Linked DNA regions of Homo sapiens: region 1 is linked to region 2. The links are contacts of gene promoters, found by promoter capture Hi-C in blood cells and fetal thymus (Javierre and others, 2016). All regions are on one chromosome and are shown on one strand. Each heading gives the region's core, a stretch centred on a gene start or on the middle of the fragment in contact. The rest is flanking DNA. Distances are from core to core; before and after follow the strand shown.

Region 1 (4,519 bases), core at 121-2,620, 540 kb before region 2:
GTGATTTTCAGGCAGGAGAAAATGGATCCCAGATGGAAACTTGGAGATTTGGGAGGAAATGAAGGCCAATGGAGAGAGAAAATATTTGGTTAATCTAAACAAATATTGTCTGTATAAAACAATAATAATTAGGTCTTGTGGAGTTTGAAATATATAAAGGATTCAAATAGCAGATGGTAACAGATGACAATAGCATCCAAGTCAGGAGGGGGTAAATGGAGTTTTAAGTGGTCTAAACTTCCTGCATTTCCCTACGAGCAGTGAGAGTTTGTCTGTAGCAGACTTTAATAAGTCAAGGATACGCATTATAATCTTTAGGATAACCACTAAAAGAAAGGAGTACTAACAAATTAATAAAGCAATGCCATGGATTAATTAAAAGTACTGTATCAGTCTGGGCTTGGTGGCTCACGCCTGTAATCCCTGCACTTTGGGAGGCCGAGGTGGGCGGATCACTTGAGGTCAGAAGTTCAAGACCAGCCTGGCCAACATAGTGAAATTCCGTCTCTACTGAAAACACAAAAACTAGCTAGGCGTGATGATGGGTGCCTGTAATCCCAGCTACTCAGGAGGCTGAGGCACGAGAATCGCTTGAACCTGGGAGACGGAGGTTGCAGTGAGCGAGATCGCACCACTGCACTGTAGCCTGGGTGATAGAGCAAGACTTTGTCCAAAAAAAAAAAAAAAAAACCCACCAAAACAAACAAAAAAACCCATATAATCCATAATAAGGTGAGAAAGGAGGGAAAAATATATTTTTAAAAGAAACTTCAGGGTAATTAAAATGTTCTTAAATTGGACGGTGGGCACACAGTGTCCCACTTCAACCTGATTCATATACTGCACGTATATTAAATAAATTTTTTTTTTCCAGATGGAGTCTTGCTGTGTTGCCAGGCTGGAATGCAGTGGGGCGATCTCAGCTCACTCACTGCAACCTCCGACTCCCTGATTCAAGCAATTCTCCTGCCTCAGCCTCCCGAGTAGCTGGGATGATGGGCACATGACACCATGCCCAGCTAATTTTTGTATTTTTAGTAGAGATGGGGTTTCACCATGTTGGCCAGGATGGTCTCGATCTCCTGACCTCATGATCCGCCCACCTCGGCCTCCCAAAGTGCTGGGATTACAGGTGTGAGCCACCAAGCCCAATCTAAATAAATATTCTTTTCTCCGAACTCCACAGTTGATAAAAATGTTTAAAAAGCAAAGCAAGTGGCAGAACATTAGGCATATGCAATATGACCTCATTTGTGTGTGTGTGAATATATATATATATATATATATACATATACATATATTCTTTCTGTTGAAGAAAATCTGGGCTGGGCATGGTGGCTCATGCTTGTAATCCCAGCACTTTGGGAGGCTGAGGCAGGAGGACTGCTTGACCTCAGGAGTTTGAGACCAGCCTGGGCAACAGAGTGGGACCCTGTCTCTACAAAAATAATAATGAAAAAACTACCTACATATGGTGGTGCGTGCCTGTAGTACCAGTTACTTGAGAGACTGAGGTGGGCGGATCGGTTGACCCAGGCAAGTGGAGGCTGCAGTGAGCCATGACCGCTCCGCTGCACTCCAGCCTGGGCGACAGAGCTAGACCCTGACTTAAAAAAAAAAGAAGCCAGAAAAATAATCTGAAGCCTGTTTGCCAAAATGCAATCAGAGGTTGTGGTGGGATGGAATTCTGCAGGGAAGCTGCCCATGCCTGCCTTTTTCTATAGTCCATGGAGTTTGCATGTTGTTTTCAGGAAGTATATTATTACTTAATAATTACAAGTCACAAACAGGCCGCAAATATGTTTCCGTTTTGAAAAAATTAATTTGAAACTATGTGATGAGAATAGGATCGATGGCTGCCGTGGGGTCCCCAACGCCTGCCGATCCCGCGGTGTCCTCCGCTCTCCCCAGCACCAGCACCTCCAGCTGAGCGCCCCGACCACCTGCCGTCGTGACCACCTCGCCCACACGGTGGCGCTGCGGGGACAGCCCAGCCTCTCCAGGCTCCGAGGGCAGGGGACTGTTGTGGCAGGGAGGGGGCGGCGTGTCTTCGGGACCTGATTGATTTCTTTGGCCTCCCGCCGACAGCCTTACCAGGTGGCATCCGGAGCGCACGCTGGCAGCCAGTCAGTCGCCTCCGTGGGTAGCTCCGGAGCATTCACGCGGTGGTGCCGCCCAGCCCACCTCCCCCCACCGGAGTCAAATGGGCTCGTGTCTCCTGGCGACAAGACTGGATTCCCAGAGCAGGCCTGGAGGGCTCTCACGGCACTTGTTAGGACAGGCTTGGGGCCTGCCTCCAGAGGACCTTAGGTTCGGGTCCTTGGGGGAGTGCAAGCCGTGTTGACCCACCTCACGCGTCAAGGGAACTACAGAGGAGGGAGAGGGGGGTCTTGCCTGGGCCCCTCTGGGCTGAGGTTGAGTGTTTCTGATCTGTCTCTGAATTCTCCCACATGCAAATCTGAGCAAGCCACTCCCTGCTTAAGACACGCAATGGCTCCCTATCGCCCTCAGGAGAAGGTCCAAGTCCCTAAGCCTGACTCCTGAGGTTCCTTACCACCGCCAACACCCAATGCTCCATCTCACTTAATCCCTTCATTCCCTTAAACCTGTCAGGCACTTTCTTACCTCTGAGGTTCCCACATGCCATTCCCATTCACTCAAACACCTTTTCACTCCTTTTTCTTCTTGGCTAACTCTGACTCATCCTTCAGACCTATAGTTTAAATGTTGCCTCCTCCCGGAAGCACCCCCCTGCCGCCCAGCCCCCAAAGGTCCCCCAGGCTTCCCTTTCTCAACATCACATGGAGTCTCGCTGTGTCACCTAAGCTGGAGTGCAGTGGTACGATCTCTGCTCACTGCAACCTCTGCCTCCCAGGTTCAAGCGATTCTCCTGCCTCAGCCTCCCAAGTAGCTGGGATTACAGGTGCACACCGGTTAATTTTTGTATTTTTAGTAGAGACGAGGTTTTGCCATGTTGGCCAGGCTGGTCTCGAACTCCTGACCTCAACTGATCCTCCTGCCTTGGCCTCCCAAAGTGTTGGGATTACAGGCGTGAGCCACCACGCCCAGGCTTCACACTTGATTCTAATGATGGGTTTATTGCCTGCCTCTTTCATTGGACGGTGGCCTCAGGAGGGCAGGGGTCTGTCTTCCTGGGTCATTACTGCTCTCTCAGGGCCAGGACCATGCAGCACTCAGCAGGTGCTCCATACATTGCTGTGCCATGAGCGAATGTTCGTGACCATACCTCTCCTGGTGGTGGGTGCTTGAGGGGTGTGCAAAGACACTCGGTGGCCTCTGGGTAGGTGGAGGTGGCAGGGACGAGGCACAGTTACCACAGCCTGTCTAAGGAACCACTGGGCTTCCCTTGGACTCCTGCTGTCTGGAGAGACAAACCACAATGACTGGTGGTTGCCAGGCCCCTCCCCAGCACCCAGAGGGTGGCTGGACACAGGCTGACCTCAAGCGGCACCAGAAAGAGATGAGTGTGTGTGTCCCTTCACCCAGCCCTGTCTGGCCTCCTCCCTGTGCACGCGGTCGCCTCCCAGACTCGATGCCCAGCCTGCATGCCCAGCTGATGATGGATATCGCCTCAAATGTCCTCCAGCATCCTAAAGTCATCTGAATTCTCATCTTCCTCAAATCGCTTCCCTTCCTGGTTCCCCATCTCAGGAATGGCTCCACCATCTCTCCAGCCACCAGCCTACTTTCCTCCCTCTACCATCACCCACCCATCACCAAAGTCTGGTCTCTAATTGAGGACCCCACCATCTGCTTTGCTGATCTCTCCAGGGTTCTAGGAATAACACCCTCGCCCACCCCTAAGCCCTCCTGAGCCCCATATCACAGCCAGGCTTATTTACTTTCAGTTCCCCAAATGAGCTGTGCCTGCTCTCTGCTCCTGGCCTCTGTCTGTGCTGTTCCCTCAGCCTGGCCTCCCCATTTTTACCTGGGGAATGTGTGTGCACCCCTCAGGTTTCTGCTTAGACATCCCTTCTTCCAGGAAGTCCTCCCTGATTGGGTGCCCCTCCTTGGGGCTCCCATGGTCACCTGGGCTTCCCTGGTCTCTGCCCTCATCACACTGTGTTGCTGTTGCTTATCATCTGTCTCCTTGTTGCCAAATCTTGGGACAGCGGTCAGTCCTCAGCACATACAGCTGCTCAGCCTTGCCTGACCCAGCTGGCCATGCCCTCCTTGCTGAAAGCCCTCCTCCCATGGCTTCCAGGTCACTGCTGTCTCTGAGGTCTCCTCCTGTTGGCTGGCTGCTCCTACTCAGTTCTCTTGGCCGGTTCTTCCTCATCTCCTGCACCTAATGTTGGTGTCTTCCAGGACTGGGCCGGGACCTCTCCTCTCCTCTCCTCTCCTCTCCTCTCCTCTCCTCTCCTCTCCTCTCCTCTGTCTACTCTCCTTCCCTTTGCACCGGCCTTCAGATGCCTGGGTTTCAATCCCATTTGCATGCTGACAGCCCCTGAATTCTATTTCAGCCTGAATCTGTCCTCCGGCTGCTCCTCACCTCTCC
Region 2 (4,869 bases), core at 393-2,892:
CCTGAGTCCTCTGTTACCCGCAGCAGATCCCTGTTACCACTGGCTGTGTCCACACTCAGCTATCCTTAATCAAACTCCTGACACTCCTGAAAGCACATTAAATACCTTATATGCTGCAAATAAAGTCAAATGGCTTTATCCACGTAGCCAATTGCAACAGACACCTCTAGAGTCACTGGTGCTACATTCCATCCCCTGCCAGTCTAAAATGGGCTCAGGGATGATAACTCATGTATTCATTCACCCTTTCATTCACTGCTTACTGACACATGCCGTAAGCCAAGCCTGGAATATAAAATACAGTGCCTGATTTTATACCACTGATCATGAGGACAGTGGTGGTGCTGGTGGTGGTGATGGTGATGATGGTGGAAGAAGAGAGAAAGGAGAAGGTGGTAACGTAAGTTACCATTTATTGCAGACTTGTGCTATAAAACACTAAGTAGTGAGTCTTCTAATGCTAACAAGATGATGAGATAAGTATAATTGGCCTCACTTTACAGAGAAGGTAATAGGCTGAAGAGGTGAAGCAACTTACTCAAGGTCACACAGCTAAGTAGCAAAGTGTAGTGAGACCCTAGGCCTGTCTGCCTCCAAAATAAAAAGTGTTCCTCTGCCCAAGAGTCACACAGCAAGTGCTAAACAAATATAACTTCAATGAAGAAGTGAGAGAGCGGGTCCGGGGCCCCAGGGGCTTACAAGCTGGTGGAGGAGACAGACGTACACATATCTACAAGCAGAGGCAAATGCTGATGGCTGAGACATAAAAAGAGCTGCAGGGAGGCAGAGGAGTGAGTGGCTAACTTGACCTGGAGGGGTCTGGGGGGCCCTCTTGGAGGAAGTGATTTTGGGGGGTAGGCCTTGAAGGATGAGCACTTTGCGGCTGACAAGCAGGCCCGAGCGTGGTGCACCGCAGGAGCTCAGCCCTCGCCCGCCGACCTGACCTGGGCCGTGCCGAGACCTCTGAGGTCGTCCTGTCCACCCCACTGTGCCCACGCGGCCGGGTCGGGCCGGGCCTCACCTCCTTCCACTTGAGCTGGCGGATGCTGATCTTCAGGGCATCCAGGGAGGTCCTGGCCTTGGAGCTGTCCACGGTGACCGGCCGCTGGGAGCCGTTCTCGCCGGAACCGTGGCCCGAGCTCCGCTTGCAGCTTCGGCCCTTGTCCCGGGGCTTCCCGTGCGGGCAGAGGCCCTGCACCGGCTTCGGCTTGGACGGGGGCAGCGTGGGCGGCGGCCGCTGAAGGACCTGGGTGTTCCCCTCCTCAGCCGCACTGGGCTGCGCCGGGGCCGGGGCCAGGACCTTGGGCTGCTCCTCCCCTGCCTTGCACTCCGGTTCCCCGGCCGCGCCCGCGTCCACGCGGACCTGTTCCGCCACCGTCTCCGCTGTGGCCTCGGCCTCAGCTTTGGCCGCCGCTTTGGCCGCAGCCACCGCCTCCGCCTCCCACCGGGCCGCCAGCTCGCTCTCGGAGCTGCCCCGCCGCATGGTGCTCAGGGCCGGGGCCAGTGCCAGTGCCACCGCCGCCGCCGCCGCCGCTCCGCCGCCCCAGTCCGCCACCAAACTGCCGCCGCTGCAGCCGCTGCCACGCGTTCCCCGCCCGAGCCCGTTGCCATGATCGCTCAGGCTCGGGTTGACAGCGGCAGTCACCGCATCGAGACGGGGTCCGGGAAGGGACAATCGCCGGCCGAGCCCCAGCGACCTCATAGGCGAGGCTGCCCACGTGACCCTGCCTGTCACAGAGGCAGCGGCGGCCATGTTGGAAGAGGGCAAAGAGCCGCCAGGACCCGCCCACCCCGCGGATGCGCTGGATCTCGAGGGCGCAGAACTCGGAGTGGCGAGGAGAAGCGGGAGGGCAGATTGAGCGCGCGTGGGGCTCGTGAGCCTGGGGACTGGGAGTAAAAACAACTACCTCAAGCAGGAGGCTCAGTCCCCGCCAACACTCGCTGGGATAACTCTCGATAGGACGGAGGAGGAGCCCCCCAGTGGGACCCTCCTCAGTGCAATGGATGGGACCCTCCTCAGTGCAATGGATGGGACCCTCCTCAGTGCGATGGATGTGAGCAGCCCAGGCCCTAGGGGAGCAGAGAGTGTTCCGCTGAAGAAACCCTCTGCTGGTCCTTTGAGCGCCCCCAGATAAGAGGGGAGGCACTTTTCCCTGTTCTCAGGGAGCTCCCGATGGGATGGGGAAGTCATGGGCATGGGTAAGCCCCCTATAGATTCCCACTCGAGTTGAGGATATTAACGATTTTTTCTTTTTCTTTTCTTTTTTTCTTTTTTTTTTTTTTTTTTAGACAGGGTCTCTCTCTGTCGCCCAGGCTGGAGTGCAGTGGCGCGATCCCGGCTCACTGCAGCAGCCTCAACTTCCAGAGCTCAAGGGATCCTCCCACCCCAACCTCCCGAGTAGCTGAGACTACACGAATGTACCACCACTCCCGGCTAAGTTTTGTGTTTCTCGTAGAAACGTGGTTTCGCCATGTTGCCGAGGCTGTTCTCAAACTCCTGACCTCAGGTAATCTGCCAGCCTCGGCCTCCCAAAGTACTAGGATTACAAGCAGAACCACCGCGTCTCTTGTTTTCTTTTTTGTTTTTGTTTTTGTTTTGTTGTTGTTGTTGATGTTGTTACAGAGTTTCGCTCTTGTCGCCCAGGCTGGGATGCAATGGTGTGATCTCGGCTCATTGCAGCCTCCGCCTCCCGGCTTCAAGCAATTCTCCTGCCTCAGCCTTGTGAGTAGCTGGGATTGCAGGAGCCGGCCACCATGCCCGGCTAATTTTTTGTATTTTTAGTATAGACGGGGTTTCACCATCTTGGCCAGGCTGGTCTCTAACTCCCGACCTCAGATGATCCACCCGCCTCAGCCTCCCAAAGTGCTGAGATTACAAGCGTGAGCCACCACGTCCAGCCTGACTGCTTTTACTTATATCACTTTTTTTGTTGTGGTAAAATATAACAAAATTTGCCATTTTAACCATTTTTAGTGTACAATTCAGTGGCATTCTGTATACTCACATTGTTGTGCAACCAGCACCACTATGGGTCTCCGGAACTCTTTTATCTTACCAAACTGAAACTTTGTGTCTATGAAACAATAAGTCGGGATTCCCTTCTCTCCTAGTCCCTGGGAACCACCATTTCTACTTTCTGACTATGAATTTGACTATTCCTGGTTCCTCATGTCAGTGGAATCATACAGTATTTGTCTGGCTTATTTCACGTAGCATAATGTCCTCAAGGTTTCTCCATGTTGTAGCATGAGTCCAAATTTCACTCATTTTTAAGACTGAAAAATATTTCGTCGTGTGCATACACCACCTCGTTTTTATCCATTCATCTGTCAATGGACTTAGGTTGTTTCCACCTTTTGGCTATTGTGAAGAATGTCGGTTAACATTGGTATACAAATACCTGTTTGAGCCCCTGCTTTCCATTTTTGGGAGTTGCCATCATTTTAAAGCCAAACCAAGGAGAAAGCTCTCCCCTCCCACCTGAGGGAGCCGCATTTGTTTTTTTAGGAAGTGGGGTTGAGAAGGTGTAACAGCACCCCAGACTGACCACAGCGGCCACGACTGCACACAGGGGAACTTTGCCTCGCTCGACACTACAGGGTGAAAGAAACACAGAAGTTGTCAAGGAACGTGGCCCCTCTTCCTCTCTCATCTCTCCAGGTGTCTTGTTTCTTTGCTTTAGTCCAGGGGTTTCACTTGCTGAATAAACTGCCTTGAAATGTCCAAGTCATAAACTTAAGAGATCCAAACCTCCTTTTTAGCAGCAGAGGGCGCTCGCATCTGTTCCCTTCATGACTTTGTTTCAGAGTTTCTGTAAGCATGGTCGTCTGGCCACTTGCATGGGAACAACCCGGGGTGTTTATTTAAAATGCAGGCTCCTGGACCCCACCCCCAGAGACTGTGATGCAGCACATCTGGGTGGACCTGGGAATCTGCATGTTAAATTAGCTCCTCCGCTGATTCTAAGGCAGCGGAGGCAAGAACCACTCATAGAGTCTGATGCAAGTCCTCTGGAAATTCTTGGAGCTGTCCGTGGTATCAGTAAGAAGGCCTCACTGTCCCCCCATTTCTCTCCACAAACCTACCCCCCAAATCCTGTCCCTCCTCCTGGTGTCCTTGATCTCAGCAAGTGGCACTACCTTCATTCAGTCATCCATGCTTGAAATTTGCCGAGATCGCGCCACTGCACTCCAGCCTGGGCGACAGAGTGAGACTCGGTCTCAAAAAAAAAAAAAAAAAAAAAAAAAAAACATATATATATATATATATATATATATATATATATATATATATATATATAAAAACTGGGCATGATGGCATATGCCTGTAATCCCAGCTACTCGGGAGGCTGAGGCACAAAACTCATGAACCCAGGAGGCAGAGGCTGCAGTGAACTGAGATCGCGCCACTGCACGCCTAGGGCAACAGAGCGAGACTCATTCGAGAGAGAAAAAGAGAGAGAGAGAGAGAGATCTCCTCTTTCCTCTCTTATCTATCTCTATCATCACCACCCCAATTCAGGCTTCTGCTGATAGCTCACCTCCAGCTCTGCCACACACCCACCCATTCTCCACACCAGACCTGCCACTCTCCTGCTTAGAAACCTCCCCTGGTTTGTCACCATCTACAGATAAAGTCCAAGAACATTGATTGTCCTAAGAGGCCCTTCCTGATTACAATTTCTGAAATCAACCCCTCTCCCTGCCTCCATGCCTTTGTAAACATTGTTCCTTCTGTCTGGACTTCCCTTCCTTCATGTCTGTTCTTAGACAAACTTTTCCCAGTGCCTCAGGCAGAAATAGTTACTCTCTGTGCTCTTCTATTCACACCCATAATTCTCATCCACAACTCTCAACCCTGGTCTGTCT

What was found. Contacts are between HindIII fragments. The CHiCAGO score rates a contact against its expected background, and 5 or more counts as called.
Region 1: a contact is called between a fragment that was not itself captured here and the fragment with the promoter of TTLL11 in region 2, in 1 of 17 cell types (endothelial precursors). The highest score is 7.2, in endothelial precursors.

Annotation. Positions count from the first base shown.
Region 1 is chr9:121,548,685-121,553,203 of GRCh38, forward strand. All of the region lies in intron 1 of LOC107987016 (a long non-coding RNA gene), which reads right to left. Among named protein-coding and RNA genes, the nearest start is that of GGTA1, 51 kb to the left of the region's middle. The HindIII fragment of the contact is 6,533 bases long and covers 1-4,519 here.
Region 2 is chr9:122,091,666-122,096,534 of GRCh38, forward strand. It overlaps TTLL11 (tubulin tyrosine ligase like 11), which reads right to left and starts at 1,643. Exons shown (of 9, transcript NM_001139442.2): 1 at 1,022-1,643. The coding sequence starts at 1,483. LOC124902263 (a long non-coding RNA gene) reads left to right here and starts at 2,467. Exons shown (of 2, transcript XR_007061757.1): 1 at 2,467-2,507; 2 at 3,509-3,735. RefSeq lists enhancers at 1,171-1,884, 1,634-1,823 and a silencer at 1,234-1,283. The HindIII fragment of the contact is 9,416 bases long and covers 1-4,869 here.